Linked DNA regions of Homo sapiens: all the other regions are linked to region 5. Evidence: promoter capture Hi-C in 16 types of primary human blood cells and fetal thymus (Javierre and others, 2016). All regions are on one chromosome and are shown on one strand. Each heading gives the region's core, a stretch centred on a gene start or on the middle of the fragment in contact. The rest is flanking DNA. Distances are from core to core; before and after follow the strand shown.

The links. Contacts are between HindIII fragments. The CHiCAGO score rates a contact against its expected background, and 5 or more counts as called.
Region 1: a fragment that was not itself captured here is called in contact with the fragment with the promoter of ZBTB11-AS1 in region 5 in 2 of 17 cell types (total B cells and M2 macrophages); the score reaches 5.7 in total B cells.
Region 2: a fragment that was not itself captured here is called in contact with the fragment with the promoter of ZBTB11-AS1 in region 5 in 1 of 17 cell types (M1 macrophages); the score reaches 5.3 in M1 macrophages.
Region 3: a contact is called between a fragment that was not itself captured here and the fragment with the promoter of ZBTB11-AS1 in region 5, in 1 of 17 cell types (monocytes). The highest score is 5.4, in monocytes.
Region 4: a fragment that was not itself captured here is called in contact with the fragment with the promoter of ZBTB11-AS1 in region 5 in 1 of 17 cell types (total B cells); the score reaches 5.6 in total B cells.
Region 6: a contact is called between a fragment that was not itself captured here and the fragment with the promoter of ZBTB11-AS1 in region 5, in 2 of 17 cell types (total B cells and fetal thymus). The highest score is 8.3, in total B cells.
Region 7: a contact is called between a fragment that was not itself captured here and the fragment with the promoter of ZBTB11-AS1 in region 5, in 2 of 17 cell types (M2 macrophages and total B cells). The highest score is 5.6, in M2 macrophages.

What each region holds. Positions count from the first base shown.
Region 1 is chr3:100,327,465-100,330,164 of GRCh38, reverse strand. No RefSeq gene overlaps it. Among named protein-coding and RNA genes, the nearest start is that of NIT2, 5.9 kb to the left of the region's middle. RefSeq lists a silencer at 1,733-1,963. The HindIII fragment of the contact is 4,443 bases long and covers 1-2,700 here.
Region 2 is chr3:100,370,132-100,372,831 of GRCh38, reverse strand. It overlaps TOMM70 (translocase of outer mitochondrial membrane 70), which reads left to right. Exons shown (of 12, transcript NM_014820.5): 9 at 110-226. Among named protein-coding and RNA genes, the nearest start is that of TOMM70, 30 kb to the left of the region's middle. The HindIII fragment of the contact is 1,772 bases long and covers 449-2,220 here.
Region 3 is chr3:100,309,016-100,311,715 of GRCh38, reverse strand. TBC1D23 (TBC1 domain family member 23) reads right to left here. Exons shown (of 19, transcript NM_001199198.3): 14 at 1,174-1,313. Among named protein-coding and RNA genes, the nearest start is that of NIT2, 24 kb to the left of the region's middle. The HindIII fragment of the contact is 4,750 bases long and covers 1-2,700 here.
Region 4 is chr3:99,807,446-99,810,145 of GRCh38, reverse strand. No RefSeq gene overlaps it. Among named protein-coding and RNA genes, the nearest start is that of CMSS1, 9.1 kb to the left of the region's middle. The HindIII fragment of the contact is 1,074 bases long and covers 832-1,905 here.
Region 5 is chr3:101,675,078-101,677,777 of GRCh38, reverse strand. ZBTB11-AS1 (ZBTB11 antisense RNA 1) reads right to left here and starts at 1,348. Exons shown (of 1, transcript NR_024407.1): 1 at 1-1,348. It overlaps ZBTB11 (zinc finger and BTB domain containing 11), which reads left to right and starts at 646. Exons shown (of 11, transcript NM_014415.4): 1 at 646-1,173. The coding sequence starts at 864. LOC124906262 (endogenous retrovirus group K member 5 Gag polyprotein) reads right to left here and starts at 1,333. Exons shown (of 3, transcript XM_047449415.1): 1 at 1-1,333. RefSeq lists an enhancer at 954-1,508 and a silencer at 1,225-1,594. The HindIII fragment of the contact is 10,842 bases long and covers 1-2,631 here.
Region 6 is chr3:99,830,153-99,832,852 of GRCh38, reverse strand. The region is part of intron 1 of CMSS1 (cms1 ribosomal small subunit homolog); the gene reads right to left. It overlaps FILIP1L (filamin A interacting protein 1 like), which reads left to right. Exons shown (of 6, transcript NM_001387850.1): 6 at 2,248-2,700. The coding sequence ends at 2,439. The region is part of intron 1 of LOC105374010 (a long non-coding RNA gene); the gene reads right to left. Among named protein-coding and RNA genes, the nearest start is that of HP09053, 7.6 kb to the right of the region's middle. The HindIII fragment of the contact is 649 bases long and covers 967-1,615 here.
Region 7 is chr3:99,872,661-99,875,360 of GRCh38, reverse strand. The region is part of intron 1 of CMSS1 (cms1 ribosomal small subunit homolog); the gene reads right to left. All of the region lies in intron 4 of FILIP1L (filamin A interacting protein 1 like), which reads left to right. The region is part of intron 1 of LOC105374010 (a long non-coding RNA gene); the gene reads right to left. Among named protein-coding and RNA genes, the nearest start is that of HP09053, 50 kb to the right of the region's middle. The HindIII fragment of the contact is 2,943 bases long and covers 1-2,700 here.

The sequences.
Region 1 (2,700 bases), core at 115-2,614, 1.3 Mb after region 5:
TGTTAAGTTTTCATTTCCCTAGGGTAAATACCTAGGAGAGGGATTGCCGGGTTGTATAGTAAACATATGTTTATTTACAAGAAATGGCCAAACTGTTGTCTAGAGTGTCTGTACCATTTTGTACACCCACCAGCAATGTATGAATGTTCTAGTTATTCCATATCCTCACCAGCACTTGGTATTGTCATTTTTTGTTTTTAATTTTAGCCATTCTAACTGGTGTGGTTTTGATTTACATTTCCCCAACAGCTAATGATGATCTTTTCACATGCCTATTTGCCACCCATCTTTCTCTGAAGAATTGCTTCTTTTCCCCATTGTTTTGTTTTCTTATTGTTGTAGTGAAAATCTTTATATATTCTGAACACAAATCCTTTGTTGGTATGTTTTGCAAGTACAGTATTTTTCCCCAGTATGTAGCTTGTCTTTCCCTTCTATTAAGTGTCTTTTGCAGAGCAAAATTTTTAAATTTAAGATTTTTTTTTTTTTTTTTTTGAGATGGAGTCTCTCTCTGTCACCCAGGCCGGAGTGCAGTGGTGATCTCGGCTCACTGCAACCTCTGCCTCCCAGAGTCAAGTGATTCTCTTATCTCAGCCTCCCAAGTAGCTGGGATTACAGGCGCACGCCACCAAGCCCGACTAATTTTTGTATTTTTAGTAGAGAGGGGGTTTCACCTTGCAGGCCAGGCTGGTCTCAAACTCCTGACCTCGTGATCTGCCCGTCTCGGCCTCCCAAAGTGCTGGGATAATAGACATGATTCATTCTTATGGATTGTGCTTTTCATATGTCTAAGAACTATGGCCTAACCCAAGATCATGAAAATTTTCTCCTGTTTTCTATTAGTTTTATAGGTTTACATTGCACATTTAGCTGTATGATGCATTGAGTTAATTTTTGTATAAGGTTTGAGGTATATAGGTTGAGATTAATTTCTTTGTATATGGGTATCTAGTTGTTCCAACAGTGTATGTTGAAAAGACTATCCTTTCTCTATTGAATTGCCTTTGAAACTTTGCTCAAAACAACTGCCCATTATTTGTGGGGGTCTATTTTTTTCATTTTATTTATTTATTTTAGTTGTTTTATTTCCATAGGTTATTGGGGAACAGGTAGTGTTTGGTAACCTGAGTAAGTTCTTTAGTGGTGATTTGTGAAATTTGGGTACACCCATCACCCGAGCAGTATATACTGCACCCAATTTGTAGTATTTTATCCTTCACCCCCTTCCCACTCTTTCCCCGAGTCCCCACAGTCCATTGTCTCATTCTTATGCCTTTGCATCCTCATAGCTTAGCTCCTACTTATGAGTGAGAACATACGATGTTTGGTTTTCCATTCCTGAGTTACTTTACTTAGAAAAATAGTCTCCAATATTATCCAGGTCGCTGCGAATGCCATTCATTCATTCCTTTTTATGGCTGAATATCATATATATATATATATCTCACAGTTTCTTTATCCACTCATTGATTGATGGGCATTTGGGTTGGTTCCACATTTTTGCAATTGCAAATTGTGCTGCTGTAAACATGTGTGTGCAAGTTATCTTTTTCTTACAATGACTTTTTTTTTTTTGAGATGGAATCTTGCACTGTCACCCAGACTGGAGTGCAATGGCACAATCTCACCTCACTGCAATCTCCGCCTCCTGGGGTCAAGCCATTCTCCTGCCTCAGCCTCCCGAGTAGCTGGGATTACAGGTGCCCACCACCATGCCCAACTAATTTTTGCATTTTTAGCAGAGACGGGGTTTCACCATGTTGGCCAGGCTGGTCTCGAACTCCTGACCTCAGGTGATCCACCTGCCTTGGCCTCCCAAAGTGCTGAGATTACAGGTGTGAGTCACCGTGACCAACCAATGACTTCTTTTCCTCTGGGTAGGTACCCAGCAGTGGGACTGCTGGATCAAATGGTAGTTCTACTTTTAGTTCTTGAAGGAATCTCCACACTGTTTTCCACAGTGGTTGTACTACTTTACATTCCCACCAGCTGCATAGACGCGTTCCCTGTTTACAGCATCCATGCCAATATCTTTTTTTCTTTTTAATTTTTTGATTATGGCCATTCTTGCAGGGGTAAGATGGTATCACATTGTGGTTTTGATTTGCATTTCCCTAATCATTAGTGATGTTGAGCATTTTTTCATATGTTTGTTGGCCATTTGTATATCTTCTTTTGAGAATTGTTTATTCATGTCCTTAGCACACTTTTTTTTTGTGGTAGAACAAAATTTGATTGTTTATATGCCCTGAATTTTTTTAAATTATACTTTGAGTTCTAGGGTACATGTGCACAACGTGCAAGTTTGTTACATATGTATACATGTGCCATGTTGGTGTGCTGCACCCATTAACTTGTCAATTACATTAGGTATATCTCCTAATGCTATCCCTCCCCCCGCCCTGCACCCCACGACAGGCCCCGGTGTGTGATGTTCCCCACCCTGTGTCCAAATGTTTTAATTGTTCAGTTCCCACCTGTGAGTGAGAACATGCGGTGTTTGGTTTTCTTTCCTTGCAACAGTTTGCTCAGAATGATGGTTTCCAGCTTCATCCATGTCCCTACAATGGACATGAGCTCATCCTTTTTTATGGCTGCATAGTATTCCATGGGCACACTTTTTGATGGGATTTTTTTCTTGCTAATTTGAGTTTGTTGTAGATTCTGGATATTAGTCCTTTTTCAGATGTATAGATTGTG
Region 2 (2,700 bases), core at 85-2,584, 1.3 Mb after region 5:
GCAAATCACCTGTTTTTTTGGAAATATTTATGTAATTTTGTGTGTTTATGTTAACATTCCATGAGTTTTTGAGTTCTTGATTTGACAGGCCTGTTTTGATTTTTTATAGTACCGCCAGGCATATACGGGAAACAACTCTTCACAAATCCAAGCAGCTATGAAAGGTTTTGAAGAGGTCATAAAGAAATTTCCAAGGTGTGCCGAAGGCTATGCACTATACGCCCAGGTAAATGTTTTTTCAGGTTTTTTAAAAATAACTGCATACATATGCCAAATCTCAGTATGGAAATCAGAAAACAGTGCTATCATGGTTGCAGCTTCTTTGGAAGCAGGTGGCTTTGTTCCTGATTGATTCTCATGGCCCCTGGTTGGTCCCGAATCACCTCAGAAGAGGCTCCTTTGTTACACAATTTGGAAATCATGGCCCTAAACTCAATATGGGGAAGCTTAAGGCGAGAATTTCCCTCCTGTCTTCATTTGGATTGGTTTTGCAAAAAGTAATTACCTTAGGAAAATTTACCGTATGCAATTGGTGGAGAAAATATCCACGGAAAGGCTTTTCTTTCTATCTGGTCACTGCCTTTTTATATGGCTAGGTTGTTGTAACGGTTTATTTTAATTTATCTTTGCTTTATCTAAAATTCCTGAAACTCTCTTGGTTTAGGATTGAAGCTATGGAAAGCAGGATTTAAATCTGAATTTTTTTATTGTAGTCTGAAATTCTTGAAAACTTCTTAGTTTTAAATCATCCATTTAAATGAAAATGATTAGCTTCTTGTAGTGACGGTCATACATTTTCCCCTCAAATAAAAGATCTCTGAATGACTCAGTTTTCTTTCTTAAAGCTGAAAATTGGTTTTGGTGTCTACATAAACTAGCCATCTCAATACTCTATATCAGGGGTACAGCTGCTTTGTGGCCTCTTAGGAATGGGGCTGCACAGCAGGTGAGCCTTGGGCAAGCATCACCACCTGAGCTCCACCTCCTGTCACTGTCAAATCTGCAGCAGCATTAGATTCTCATGCCTGATGATCTGAGGTGGAACAGTTTCATCCCAAAACCATCCCTCCTCCTCCTACCCCCATCCATGCAAAAATTGTCTTCCACAAAACCAATCCGTGGTGCCAAAAGTGCTGGGAAGGTGTTGGGGACTGCTGCTCTATGTAATTTATTTTTCTTTTTTTTTCTCTTTTTAATTACAAAAGACATGTTGGGTTTTTCCCCACAGCACAGAAATAGGAAACGATAACAAATTACTATCCCCTGGCTGGGTGTGGTGGCTCCTGCCTGCAATCCCAGCACTTTGGGAGGCTGAGGCAGGCGGATCACTTGAGCCAGGAGTTTTGAGACTAGCCTGGCCAGCATGGAGAAACCCCATCTCTACTAAAAATACAAAAATTAGCTGGGTGTGGTTTGGCGCACACCTGTTATCCCAGCAACTCGGGAGGCTGAGGTAGGAGAATCGCTTGAACCCAGGAGGCGGAGGTTGCAGTGAGCTGAGATCACACTACCACACTCCAGCCTGGGCAAGAGTGAGACTCCATTTCCAAAAAAAAAAAAAAAAAAAAAAAATACCATCGCTGGTTGACCCCTCTCCTTAAACCATTCTTAAGGATGCTTATTTTGTTTTTAATTTCCTTCATGGTATCTGTAGGCAGGTTATAAGAACAATTTCACAAGGATTTTAAGGGTTTATTGAGGGTGGAACTATGAGAAAATTGATTTGTGTTGGATCTGTTCTTTAGAGGTAGGTCTTATATATAACTACATTAAAGTGTACATTTTAATCCTATGAATGGGTACACTTGAGTTTATGCCTTATAATTAGTAACAAACCAGGAAATGACAGCAACATCCTCATCATTGTCATGGAATTCAGAAGGGCTTTTTTGGTGCAGATTTCTCTAAGCATCTAGAAGAGCAAAGGCCACCGAATAGGAACCACTACTGGGGAACAACTCCTCTGCAGAACTTTCCCAATAGCATATTTCCCTATTACCATTCTGCCTTCAAGATAGGTTTGGTTTGTATGAGCTGTCTTCTCATCAGCATTAGCATTATTACAGTCAGTTTGCACTCAAATTTCTTTTCTTTGGTCTGTTTTCTAATTTTAGCTTCACTATATAGTATATGTAACTTTATATATGCATACAGTACGTGTGTGTGTATGTGTATGTGTATATATATATACTTAGTGTAACTTTTTTGGCCCTCAAAGCTTTGGCGTAGATGCTGGCCAACTCGCAAAGTTACAGCTTGAGCATAGTCTGATATCCACAGAACTGTGCCTTCCATTTCAGCCGTGGGATTTGTCTTAAAAAGTTGATTATAGCTGCTGCTTTTGTTTTCAAAATAAGTATTTATTACATTATTGTTAACTATGACAAACAATTGGGGAAAATCCTAAATGTTAACAGAAAATTGAATTATGTTTGCAGAATTGTGGTACACTCACTTAATGGTATATTATGCAGCCATTAAAAGTTACAAATACATTAAAGTTACAAAGCAAGATACAGCACTGCCTATTATTAAAGGGAGAATTGCATACAAAATGAACTCAACCATGTGAAAGAAAACAAATAGGGAAGTAAATAGAGATAGAAAAATATATCAGGAAGGCATCCATGCTCACAATGATGGAAGCTATAAAAATATTTCTACTTTCTATATCTTTCTGATTTTTATTATAAAGAAGAT
Region 3 (2,700 bases), core at 77-2,576, 1.4 Mb after region 5:
AGATGTTTCCATCATCCCAAGTACAAAGAAAAACAAAGAAAAGCCAATTTCAACTAATCAAGGCAGCAGTCTTTTTGACTTAGTTATCACCAGTACATTTTAAAACAAATAAATTTTAAAATAAAATTGTAAATGTTCATGCTACAAAATGTAGCAATAATAGTCCTCCAACTCAGAAGCACCAACAAAAGGTAAAAGGGTTAGCTTTTGAGAAGACATAACTTTACTGCATAAACAAGTCTTTCAGGCTTGATAAAACACCTTAGTAATTATCAGTTGACCATTTTAGATAAGGTACAATGTTTTGGATCAATGAAAATAATCTATTACCTTCTCGGCTATTTACTAAATGCAGAAAAATGTGCTTTTGTATGCATATATACTATACTTAATAAAGGGACAGACAACAAATCCCTGACATTCAATTCTTAAAGTAAAATATGTCAGTTTTCCCAGGATACTGCAAGACATGAAAGTGAAACCAAATACTATAACACATTTCCAATATGAGGCTTCCTTAAAACAAATTCTGTGTTGCAATTATAAGGTTAGCTTTGAACTCTAGGAACAAGAAAGATCAAACAGACTTATACGTGGAGAAAAAAATGTATCCTCAGTTACAATAAGAAACAATATATATAACAGATATTTTTAAACTTATTTCTAAATTGTTAACCATGTCCCTCATTTGTAATTTACAAGGAAATGGGGTTTTGTAAACGAAATTCTATGAAGGTCTGATCTTAAACATCAGAAGGTGGGTTTCTGCTATATTTAGCATGACCAGATTTTCTAGGTTTTAAAATCTTGGAGCAGAAGAAGAAGTTCCTACTATGAGATCACTGAATTCGGCAGATGATTCTCCATCCATTTGACATTTGGGAAGCAGCTACTATATGAAATGTGATACATACTGGGACATAAATTTCTTTTAGTGAATGGCATGATGTGACAGATACATTATTTGCATCTTTGAGTAGTAAGAGAGAATAATTATGGATATAAAGTACATTCCTGCAATTCTAATGAAAACTATGAAATCATCTAATAGAAAATATACTTTATAATCCTTTTCTGGAACACATTAAATTCAACTAACATTTACTTACTCTAAGACATTGTTTCTTTAGTTTTAATTACTCATCATAAACTCATACTGTATAAACAACTCACCGATCCACAGGAGTTGATGTATTCTCTATAAAACTGATAACTTTTTCCCTGACATTAACGGATTTTGTCTTCAAAGCCACAGTCATTTTATTTACTAGTGATTTCATTCCTCTATCACTTGAGCCATTAGGAGATTCACCCTAAAAAAAGAACATAATGGATTAACTGCCTCTGAATGACTAAAAGACATACTACTGCTAATGGTTATCTACATGTTATAGACTGAATTGCAATCCCACCAAAATCATATGTTGAAGTCCTAACTCCCAGTATATCTCAGAATGTGACTGTATTTGGAGACAAGGCCTCTACAGGCATAATTAAGGTTAAATGAGGTCTTCAGGTGGTCTCTAATCCAGTCTGACTGGTGTCCTTATAAGAGAGAAAGACATGAGCACATGAAAACAGAGAAGCCATGTAAGGACACACAAGGCAAGGCATCCATCTGCAAGCCAAGGAGAGAGGCCTCAGGATAAACTAAACCTGCCAATACTTTCATCTTGGACTTTTAGCCTCCAGAACAGTAAGAAAATAAATTTACATTGGTTAAGCCCCCAGTTTGTAGTATGATATTTTGTTGCGGCAGCTGCAAACTAATTCATTAGGTGAAATCATTTTAAGAATAGAAGGTAGATGCTGGGCGCGGTGGCTCACGCCTGTAATCCCAGTACTTTGGGAGGCCGAGGCAGGTGGATCATGAGGTCAGGAGTTCAAGACCAGACTGGCCAACATGGTGAAACCCCATCTCTACTAAAAGTACAAAAATTAGCCGGGCGTGGTGATGGGTGCTTGTAATCCCAGCTACTCGGGAGGCTGTGGCAGAGAACTGCTTGAACCTGTGAGGTGGAGGTTGCAGTGTGCTGAGATTGTACCACTGCACTCCAGTCTGCGCGACAGAGCGAGACGCTGTCTCAAAAAAAAAAAAAAAAAAAGAAGGTAGAATAAAAAATTTAGGATATACTTGCACATATATGTGCGTGGAGTCTGACATTATCTTTTTTATTATATAAGAAACAGTTAAAACTACTGACCTTTCTTATCTCAGACTAGTCTACAAAAATAAGCAAAAGTATGATCAAACTACTATTTGCACATATGTGAGTGTGGAGCCTGAAATTACCTTATTTATTCAATAAGAAATAGTTAAAACTATTAACCTTTCTTATCTCAGACTAGTCTTCAAAAATAAGCAAAAGTATAATCAAACTACTATCCATGCAGCTACATTTTTAAATATCCCTTGTAAATGTTTGCTTTTTAAAGACATTGCCACTTAGGCCTTTATTTTCTGAAGAAAAGTTATCCTGATGTACCAAATGTAAGAGATGCGAGTATAATTCTTTTTTGTGTTTTTTGTTGTTGTTGTTTTGAGACAGAGTCCTGCTCTGTTGCCCAGGTTGGAGTGCAGTGGTGCGATCTTGGCTCACTGCAACCTCCGCCTCCTGGGTTCAAGCAATTCTCCCTGCCTCAGTCTCCTGAATAGCTGGGATTATAGGCACCTACCACCACACCTGGCTAATTTTTGAA
Region 4 (2,700 bases), core at 119-2,618, 1.9 Mb after region 5:
ATAGTGTTAATTGGATCTAGAGAGCAGGTAATGGCAAGTATTCTGGATGCCCTAGTAAAATACATGCATGCCAAAGGGTGAGAGAGAAATTACAAATGTTCAGGGAACTGCAATGTTGGTTATATTTTTAGGAGTTTGGTGATCTGAAGCATGCCTGGGAATCCCCTTCAATGTAAAGGAAAATTTTTTGTATCTCTCATCTTCCCCTAAGAGAAACAGTATTTTGTGCAGATAGCCTATGCCACATTTGGAAATAGTGTTCTAACTCATTTATCAGGTGACTCAAAAGGCTGCCATTTTTGAATAGGGTCAAGAGAAGGGAGGGCTCAGCAGCAAGTCTTGGCTACGACACAAGCTGCCCTGCCACTCAGGCCATAATGACATGGCAGATCCAAAGGTGCTGAGTGATAGATAATGATGCTGGATGGAATCTCTGGCAGATCCTAAAGAGAGAATCACGGTGCCTGCTCCAAGGATTTTCTAGTACAGCTTTGCCTTCTACAGCCAAACCATTTGAAAAGCAGCTGTGGGCAAAATGTAGAGTCCTAGCAGAAACAGGCACTTGACTATGGAATATCAAATGACTATATGACCAGAACTGCCCTTCAGGAATTGGCTCTTGTAAGGTTGGGTGCTCACAGTAACAATCCACTGAACAACAGAAATGGTATACATGCGAGCACATGTAAGCAAGTCCAAAAGTCACAAGATACATGAACAGATGGCTCAGAGCTCCTTGCCTTTTGTGTTCCTCAGCTCACACCTATGTCCTCTGGGTTATTCTCTATGACCAGCTGATAATGTTGGAAAATGCTCAAAGCTGGTTAAGCTTGGTATGTTGGTAGAACTGAAAATGGATTGCTACTACACTGCGGTTCCACTCAGGGAGGATCCTTAAAGGACAGAGGTGAACAGAATCCTGGTTGGCAGAGCTTCAGTACATGCATTCATCTCCTTTGAATGGAGAAAATAGTCTGAGGTCAGTGTAAATGTAGGGCCTTGAGCAACAGTGAATGGTATGGTTGATTGGGTGAAAGGTCTCTAAGATAGAATATGTGAAGTTCAATAATAAAGAGACCTGAGGAAGAGGCATGTGGAGGGACCTAAAGGAGTGAGCACAAAGTGTGTGTGTCTTTGTGGCACATGTGTGTGTCCACCAGAGAGTATCCACTACAAGTGAAGCATTGACCAACCAGGTGGACAATGCGGTAGATTGTATTTTTCAAAGATGGCCACCAATATCCTCCATCTCACCTACTCTTCTTGTAATCTGACCTTGACAGTTCTCCCATTGAGTGGTGGGATCTGTGTTCCCTTTCCTTGAACCTTGGCAGAACTTTATCATGTCAACCAAGAGAACATGGTAGAAATGATATTCGGTGACTTCTGAGGCTAGATCCCTAAAATTCTGTGCATTTCCACCTTGCTCCCTTGGGATGCTCACTTGGAACCCAGGCATCACTCTGAGAAAGCTCAAAGTAGCCCACACAGAGAAACCCTGTGGAAAGAACACGTGTAGCTATTCTGGTCCACAGCTCAGCTAAGGTCCCTGCTGACAGCATCCACAGCCAGACCTATAAATAAAGATACCCCCAGGTGATTCCAGTCACCAGCTGTTGATTGATCCCAAGCTGTGGTCCAAGACATCATGGAGCAGAGGCTAGCCATTCCCACTATGACCTTTCTGAATGTCTGACATAACAGAATTCCTGTAAGAAGAAAATGACTGAAACCTGCTTCTTGAACTGCTGTTTCTATCATGGCCACGAGAGGGAGACCTTGTTCCTTAGGGACCTGCAAGCTGCCAAAACCGTATTCCTTTGTTGGTCCCTGCCTAGATTGGCAGTGGATTTTCCTTCCTTCTCCTGACAGGGCCTGCTGAGGTCAGGTGGCTGAATTAAAGCTTCCTTTTTCTAATCTTATGTCTTCAGTATGTATGGACTCTGTAAAGATCCTCTCATTTAGGGGAAGAAAAACCTGATTGTTAACTTTGCTTTTGTAATAAGAGAATTAGCATGCAGATTGCATATTTGGGCCTGAGGAAAAGGAAATCCAGTCATTTGGGTTTGTACTTTGAAGTTAATGGGTGAAGGCAGAGCATCTGCGTCCAGCAGCCAGGTCTTAAGGTCTCTAGAAGGTAACATCCACTGAAGTAGAGGAGGCACAGAAAGTGGCAGTTTCCATAATGGTCTGCAGAAGTGTTCCTGGGAGAGCTGGGATTTGTGGTTTTTGGACCACCAAAATGTTGCTGCTTAGGCCCCTGATGCATTATTGGTGAGAAGTGCAGTGAACTTGGAGGTAAGGGAGGCTGCTGGAAGTCATTTCCAATTGCCTCCTATGGTTTATTCCTATTGATAAATAGTTTACCCTTTAGTTTTACTTTTTAACATCATTTTTTGAAATTGTAAAATATACATAATATAAAATTTATTATCTTAACCATTTTTAAGTATATTAAGTACAGTTTAGTTCAGTGGCATTACGTACATTCACATTGTTGTGCAACCATCACCACCATTCATCCTCAGAACTCTTTTTATCTTGCAAAACTGAAACTCTGTGCCCATTATACAAAAACCCCCCTCACTCGAGCCACTGGCAACCACCATTCTGCTTGCTACCTCTATGAATTTGACTACTCTAGGTACTGCATATAAGTACAGTCATACAATATTTGTTATTTTGTGACTGGCATAATGT
Region 5 (2,700 bases), core at 99-2,598:
AATGGAGAACCTTTTCCCCTACGTTTGTGTAAAAATATATGTAAATAAAGCCTTAAAATAGTGTTACCGACCCCCTTTTCCACTCGCAATAACATTGACTATAAATGCTGATAATTCCAAAAGAATCTCGACTCTTCCTTGAGTAGTCTGGAGCTAGCAGGTGCAAGTTTAGAAACAATAACTCATCACTGAGGGAGGCACTGAAAATTTTATAACTGTTAACTGGAATCTAAATTTCCATGTAAATGGGCTGTCTCTGGTCCCGTGTCAAGAGACTAATATTTTTCCAGAAGCCTGAAAATATGCTTTTATGATGTTGGGAGTCTCAAACGTAAAAACGGACTCCTAACCCTCTGGATGTTTCGGCTGAACTCTCAACTGTCCACCAGCTCCCCCTACACGTGGCTCCTTAGAAAGCGTGGAAAAGGGAAAAATGAAAAGAGAAACTGCCAGGACTTAAGATGTCTGCTTAAAGACTCCCTCGAACTGCAGTGAAGGGTCCTACCCGCTTCCAAAATGTCCACCCGCATTCCTGACGTCACTGGATCGGCTCCATCAAGCCAGAAAACGAGAGTGCGCTCCAATCAGGGCTCAGTCCCCGCCCTTGCCTTGCGTCACTTCCGGTGGTGCAGCAGCCATTTTGTCAGTCGCCAGCGGATCCCGCGCGCTGGAGAAGTGCAGTTCCCCCTGGTTACCAACTCGCCCGCTTTTCCTTCGGACTAAGGGAGCCGTCGAAGAGCGCTCGCCAAAGGCGCAGCCGTTTCTCCCTACGGTGCCGCCGCTCCTCCTGCAGCCGCCCGTAGGTAGCGGGCCGTTTTCCTCACCTGTCCCTGACAGGCGCCCTCAGGGAGCCGCGGTCCGCGATGTCAAGCGAGGAAAGCTACCGGGCCATCCTGCGTTACCTGACGAACGAGCGCGAGCCGTATGCGCCGGGCACCGAGGGCAATGTCAAGCGTAAAATCCGAAAAGCTGCCGCCTGCTACGTGGTGCGCGGCGGGACTCTGTATTACCAGCGGCGGCAGCGGCACCGCAAGACCTTCGCGGAGCTGGAGGTGGTGCTGCAGCCGGAGCGACGCCGGGACCTCATCGAGGCGGCGCACCTGGGTCCCGGCGGCACTCACCACACCCGGCATCAGACCTGGCACTACTTGTCCAAGACGTACTGGTGGCGAGGTGAGACCTAGCCCGCGGCGAGGGGGCGGGCTGGCGACTCGTTGCCTGGGCAAGGCTCGCTGGCGAGGCCTATGCGTACCCACGAGTCGGAGGGTCTCGGACGCCTCTGGGCGGCGGAGCTGCTGCCAGGCGGAGCCGAGAGGGTGGGGGACGCGAAAGGAGCCGCACTTCCCACAGGAAGGAGGCCGGCGAAGCTGGGGGCGGGCCCTGGCCCTGGGTGGGACCAAGGGGGCTTCCCCGGAGGCCGGGCCAGCCGCGGGGAGGGGCCGGACGCCTGGGCTGCGCCAGGTCCGCCTCCTTGGGCGGCCCCTTGAGGCTGTAGGCCCCGGCCCTCTGGAGGTGGCGTGTGGCTCGCGGCAGTGGAGGCTGCGGGGTGCACGTTTTCGACTGTGCTGACGTTTGGAAGGGGGGACGAGTCACCCGAAGCCGGGTCTCCCGTTTCTTTAGTGCTGCGCTTGGGTTTTGGCGAGCGAGTATGAGCTGCTCTGGACACATTCGCTAGTGTTCCTCAAATTTTGCCGCTGCTGCGTAAATAAGGAATAATACAATTATTTGCAGAAGTGATAAGGAGTGATTGAGAAATCGCCTTGAGCGTTTTTTTTTAAGAACAAGAAGTAAATGTAAAAGATATCAGTTACTGTTTTTGTTGTTTGGTTTTGCGGGGGCGGGGTGTTTGAGTAGACACGGGTCTCGCCTCGTTCCCCAAGCTGGTCTCCATCTGGCCTCAAGCCATCCTCCCGCCTCGGCCTCCCAAAGTGTTGGGATTTCAGGCATGAGCCACGGCGCCCAGCTTGATATTCGTAACTCTGAATGTTTTAATAATCTTTCCCCTAATGATGTGAAAAACGCGTTTGGGAACTGTGTAGCATTGTATATACGCAGAAAAGGTACGATTACTGTGACTTTTTGATTGTCAAAAAATACAGCTCTGAAGTTACTTGACTCCTTGGGAACCAGTTGTAAGGGAGGATAGCAAGTGTCCTTGGCTTCTTAACCATCTTCACTCTCCACAGTTAATGAATATTCAAACTGTCAGAATTAGTTAATAGTTTATAGTCCCATTTAAGAAATTTTGTTAGGAACAGTGCTGTCACTCTCCAATATGGCTACAGAAAAGTTATTTCATTCAAATCTTGGTTACTTCGTCTGTGAATAACGAAATTACTGAATAGTTTCTAAAGTTCTTTTCGGTTTATAAACATCATCAAGTTTATTCGTTTACGAACTATTGGATAATCAAATTCTTCCATTTATTTTCCACTTTAAACCAATATCTGAATTAAATTCCTGTAAGGACAGACAAATGCGAAGATTAAATTATGAGGTAATGAAGTAATCAGTGCATTTTGTTTGGATGGGTTTGGGTAGACATTAGTTTGTTGAACAAATGTCTCAGATTTAATACTTCAGGATTTGTTAAAGATGATAATTGTAACTATAGGTAACATTGATCAAGCTTGTATATGCAGGATGTAGTCGTTAGCCCTTGACATTTATTTAACCTTCATAAAACCTTAATACTTATCT
Region 6 (2,700 bases), core at 42-2,541, 1.8 Mb after region 5:
TTTTTTTTTTTTTGAGACAGAGTCTTGCTCTGTGGCCCAGGCTGGAGTGCAATGCTATGATCTCGGCTCACTGCAACCTCCGCCTCGTGGGTTCAAGCGATTCTCCTGCCTTAGCCTCCAAGTAGCTGGGATTACAGGAGTGCGCCACGACGCCCGGCTGTTTTGTATTTTCAGTAGAGACAGGGTTTCACCGTGTTGGCCAGGCTGGTCTCGAACTCCTGACCTCAAGTGATCCGCCCGCCTCAGCCTCGCAAAGTGCTGGGATTACAGGTATGAGCCACTGCGCTAGGCCTTTTTTTTTTTTTTTTTAAAGATTTGGGAATGGCTGGGCGCAGTGGCTCACACCTGTAATCCCAGCACTTTGGGAGGCCAAGGCGGGCGGATCATGAGGTCAGGAGATCGAGATCATCCTGGCTAACACAGTGAAACCCCGTCTCTACTAAAAATACAAAAAATTAGCCGGGCGTGGTGGCGGTCGCCTGTGGTCCCAGCTACTGGGGAGGCTGAGGCAGGAGAATGGCGGGAGCCCGGGAGGCGGAGCTTGCAGTGAGCCGATATCGCGCCACTGCACTCCAGTCTGGGTGATACAGCGAGACTCCGTCTCAAAAAAAAAAAAAAAAAGATTTAGGAATGACAATTGGGGTTGTTCTGATAAAATAACAAGCCTTTGCTGCCATCTAGAGGTAAAAACTACGTAATGAAAATGGAGTTACCTAGAAAACAAAAGCTTGCACATCAATGGTGTAGAAACAAGTAGGAGCCCAGTAACCTTCAGGCAGCTGGGCCTGAAAGTATCAGTGACCACCATTCCAAGCCACATTTTCTTCACCAACACGTATCAGTGTTGCTCAAAAGAAACGAGCTCCACCAATACTGTGTGTCATACCAATCTGTCTCGGCCTTTCACAGTATTGAACTATGCATACCCAGGTAGGCTAGAGTTCCAGGTGAAGAAAAAATAAAGCTTACATCTAAAGGAAGTTCAATTATGGCAGCACTTTTCCAAGTGTGGTAGGCCAACCACCTGAGTTGAAGAAATCACTCTGAGAGTTTATTAAAAATGTGAATTGCTGGACATATCCACAAACCAATGAATTACAATGCATAGGAGTAAGATTCAGAAATCTACAATTTAAAGACGATCCCAACATAGATTTTTGAACACTAAATTGGAGACCCAATCTAAATCTTGATAAAGTTACAGGACATCACAGAAATCCATCTTGGGAAGGCTATTATTAATGCTATAGTCACAATATTAGCAGACTTGATTAGTCTGTCACTGACTTCAACTGCAGCTTCTACTGCTCATGGCTTGGATAATATGGTTGTTCACAGAAATGTCCTGATCTCCAAGTTGTTTCCTTCCTTTTTCGTCTTTTAAAACAATTTAGTGTTCCTTTTTCTCATAGCATACTTACTATAAAATATGTGGAGAACACAGAAAATGTAAGAAAAATCAAAAGTACCTGTAAGTCCACTAATCAGGGTTAACAACCAATAGCATGGGTGCATTTTCTTTTAGTATTTTTCTCTTCACATGTAAATAATTAAAGCATGTACACAGTTTTAAATTCTACTTTTAACATATCTAAGTAAACGTTTTCCTGAAGCTTTGGCCTCATTAACAAAGCATGTTGTCATAATTATACTATAATTCATTTAACACATCCTATTCATTTAACTGTCCATTTTTCATCATTATAAACAATGCTAAAATCAAATATCCTTGACTGCCTCTCTACATCCTAGAAAAGATTCATAAGGCTCTTGATACATACTACCAAGCTGTTCCACTAATCATCATTGGAGCTGCCCATCTCACTCATACTGTGAAAACTTTTAAAAGTCTGAAGGCCCAAGTCAAATGCCATATTCTTCATGAAGCACTCTTAAAGACAATCTCATTCGAAATTAACCTTTCTCTGGCAATCTCATGGCTCTTTGAGATTAATTTGGGACACTACTCTTGTATATGTCCTACTACACCGTGATTGCCAAATATCTATTCATCTCTGTATCTACCACTATCTCTATCAAGAACTGTGCACACAGCACACATTCAACACACACCAGATTACTTTACTGACATTCTTTTCTTCAACCTGACGATCTTTGATCTGATACATCCCCAGAAACTGGTGCTTTCAAAGCCAAATCCTCCAAACTGACTCCATGTCCTAAACAATTTCTACTTCTCCACCAACTGTACCATTAATTACCTTTTGTTCTCTTGTTTAATTCAAGATCAAGGAGGTATGCAAGCAGAGAATCCCAGCACGGATCCCTAAACCGAAATCTACAGGCATCACCAAGATTTCCACTAAAGCCCCCACAGTGCCTATGGATAAGCCTATTTACCAAAATGGCTGTGGGAAGCTACACATCGTGAGAACTGTCACCTCCAACACCTTCCTCCACGTGGGAGGGAGAAGGTAACTCATACCAATGCACTGCCTGGATACATTCATCTACAGAAATATGTGGAAAGCTAAAATTACCACTATGAAAGGCCAAAGGACCATCTCTCCAGGAAATGGTGAAGCAGCTTTGTGGACCTGATGAAGATCATCCCCCAAAAAGCAGCACGTCTACAATTATTTTACTTCTATATGTGTATATGCACACACAAACACTCGCAGGCCTAGACCCACACCCAAATCTACCCATTTCCTCATCCGACATATAATCTAACCCAAA
Region 7 (2,700 bases), core at 40-2,539, 1.8 Mb after region 5:
ATGCCAATTTAAAAGGTAAAACTTATAGAGTAACTGTATTAATCAGTAACATTTTAAACCATAATTAGTTACATCTAAATCCTGAAGAGGCTATTGCTACCAATGAACTCTTACAGTATGATAACTGAACACTTGGCAGAAAAATCTCCATAATATTTTACTTCATTTTTTCCAACTAAAAGTCAACGTAGGAATTAAAAATAAAAAGGTTATGTCAACTTTAGAACACTGGAATAGGAGATGAAAAATTGATTCATCATTCAATCCTTATCTGGTCTAAACATATATTGTAAAATAAAACTTTAACAACTATGTGACAGAATTGTCCCTTTTAAAACAGTCTCTATGTTTTATAAGTATATACAATTCAAACTCAGAATTCATAGGCTGCCATTTATATTTACTCTGAGATTTTAAAATGCTGGCATTTTAGTTGGCACTAAAATGACCATATAAGATAACTGTTTGGAGGTACAGTAAAAGTTTAACAGAGGAGCAGAGCACTATAACCACTGAGGTGTATGTGTGTGTTACAAACTCATGTTTTTATATTTAATTGTCAGAAGAAAATGTCAGATCCCAGATTTTATCATTGAAACACAGCATTTAAAAAATACTCAAAATGTGGGTTATATCTGTATATTTCTAATAATTTCTGTTGGATGGTTTTTAAAAGTATATGACATTGGTGCCTATCATTTTTGCCTCATAGCAGTTTTTTTGTTTTTGCTAATTTTGTTTGGAGCAATGCACGACTTTGGTTTTCATATTTTAAAAGAAAAATTATATGTTATTTGGCCTGAGGATAGGCTATATAAACTGCAGGTTAGTACTGAGAAGTAGGATTTTCCACAAACTATTATTTCAAACCTAGGGAAGCCCACCATAATGAGAAGAGCGGGGCCAACACCCATGTCACTGTGGAGAAGTACAGAATATGCAATGGAAGAGTTGTTTATCTGATATAAGCGGTAATTGGAAACTGAAAAATTCCTGCTCTGGAAAAAAGATATTCTGCTCTTCTGAATCTAACAGAGGAAGAGACAAACAGAAACCATCAATTATTGTTTCAGGTATACCCAGAGTACCATCTGTACCATAAACTACAACTCAACTGTTGAAAATCATAACTTCCATCAAAATTCTAACAGCTGTGTTTCCCAGTGTCTTTTATTTTTTTAAAGCAGGCAAGCATCGATTTTTTAAAATTTAAAAATAACACTCTTTAATATTCCACACTTTTTCCCATTTATTAACTTTAAAGCATGGTTCAAAGAACAATCACATAAGACCTCTTTTAAAACTGAAAGCTAAGTATGACTTATCATGGATACCCTATCTCACACTGGGCTCTTTGGATGAGCAATTTCTTAGTCCTTGGGACAATCTGTATGATGGGAAAATGTTTTTGATAGAATGAATGTGAATTTCTACACTTCCAAATAAAGCACATAATAATTTTATGCTTAGTAAGTTCATTTGCACTTTTGTGGTGATTAACCTTAACTGTTAAGCCCTGGTATTTTTGTGCTATTTTCCTAATGCTGTGATGGAGACTATAGTAACAGCCAGTATGAAAACACAAATCAAGCCTTGACTTAATTTTCCGGTTCTCTTGCAGTTCCCATTAATTTGCCTTCTCAAAAGGCTGTAAATTTTGTTTAAGGGTTCTCTGCTGTAATTTCCCCTCCAAAAAAGTGCCTTTGGTAATAAATGGATTTTGAGATTTAAGAAAAAAAACTGAAAATGTAGGAGGAAGAATAAGATTCCAATAATTCTGCTTAGGTCATGTTCTGTCCATGTCTAGTGCTTCAGGGCAAAGTGAACATTTTACAAGGTGAATAGAAAAAAAACATACAGCCCCTCCTATTTAAAGGAAAAAGGAAGAGGGGCAAGAAGAGAACTGTTTATAAAAGACTGGATATTGTGGATGTAAGGCAATATTGGTCTCAACCTGCTTCAGGAACTGAAATGGCCCCATCTGTTGTTCACAGAGCCTGTCATCTTTGAAAAATCTAATACACCCTACCTTATCTGTTGGACATATTAATTTTAAACGATTTTAAGGTCCATTTAATTTGTATTTGACCATGAATTCAGCTTCAATTTAAACTGATTGTTTAGTTTTTGTAAATTATATTTAAATAAGGATTTAAAGATGAAGAGACACTGCATATGCAGCCAGCATCACAAACCTTCAAAGCAATATTTCTGTGGTTGCTGCTGTCATCACCACAACATTTTCTAGCCACCAACCCAGTCACTTATGCTTAAAGTGTGCTGCAATGACTTTTAGAACCTCCTATGGCTGGTCATTTTCTACTTAAAATGAGGTAGGACATTCATGTTTTGAGTCATTTTGTTAGGTACACTAATTCCTAGCAGATTATCACCAACACTTATCAGCCTTTGCACATCCCTCCTTTTTTTAAAAAAAAAAAAAGACTTGAGATTCTCCTTGACCTTCATCTGCACTAACATCGTCTCTGCCTGGGAAAGCTGGGCAAACAAAAATGGGAAGGCTTACCAAGGAAAGTCCCTGGTTTCTTTTTCAGATATGAGAAACACTCCCTCTTCATGCTTGTTCTCTGAGATGCTTTAGCAGATTAAGATAGGACAGCAGCAGTTTTAATTCTGAGCCCAAGAACGAGAACACATTAGCAGTATTCTTTTTCCAGTCTGACCGTCCTCACATTTCTA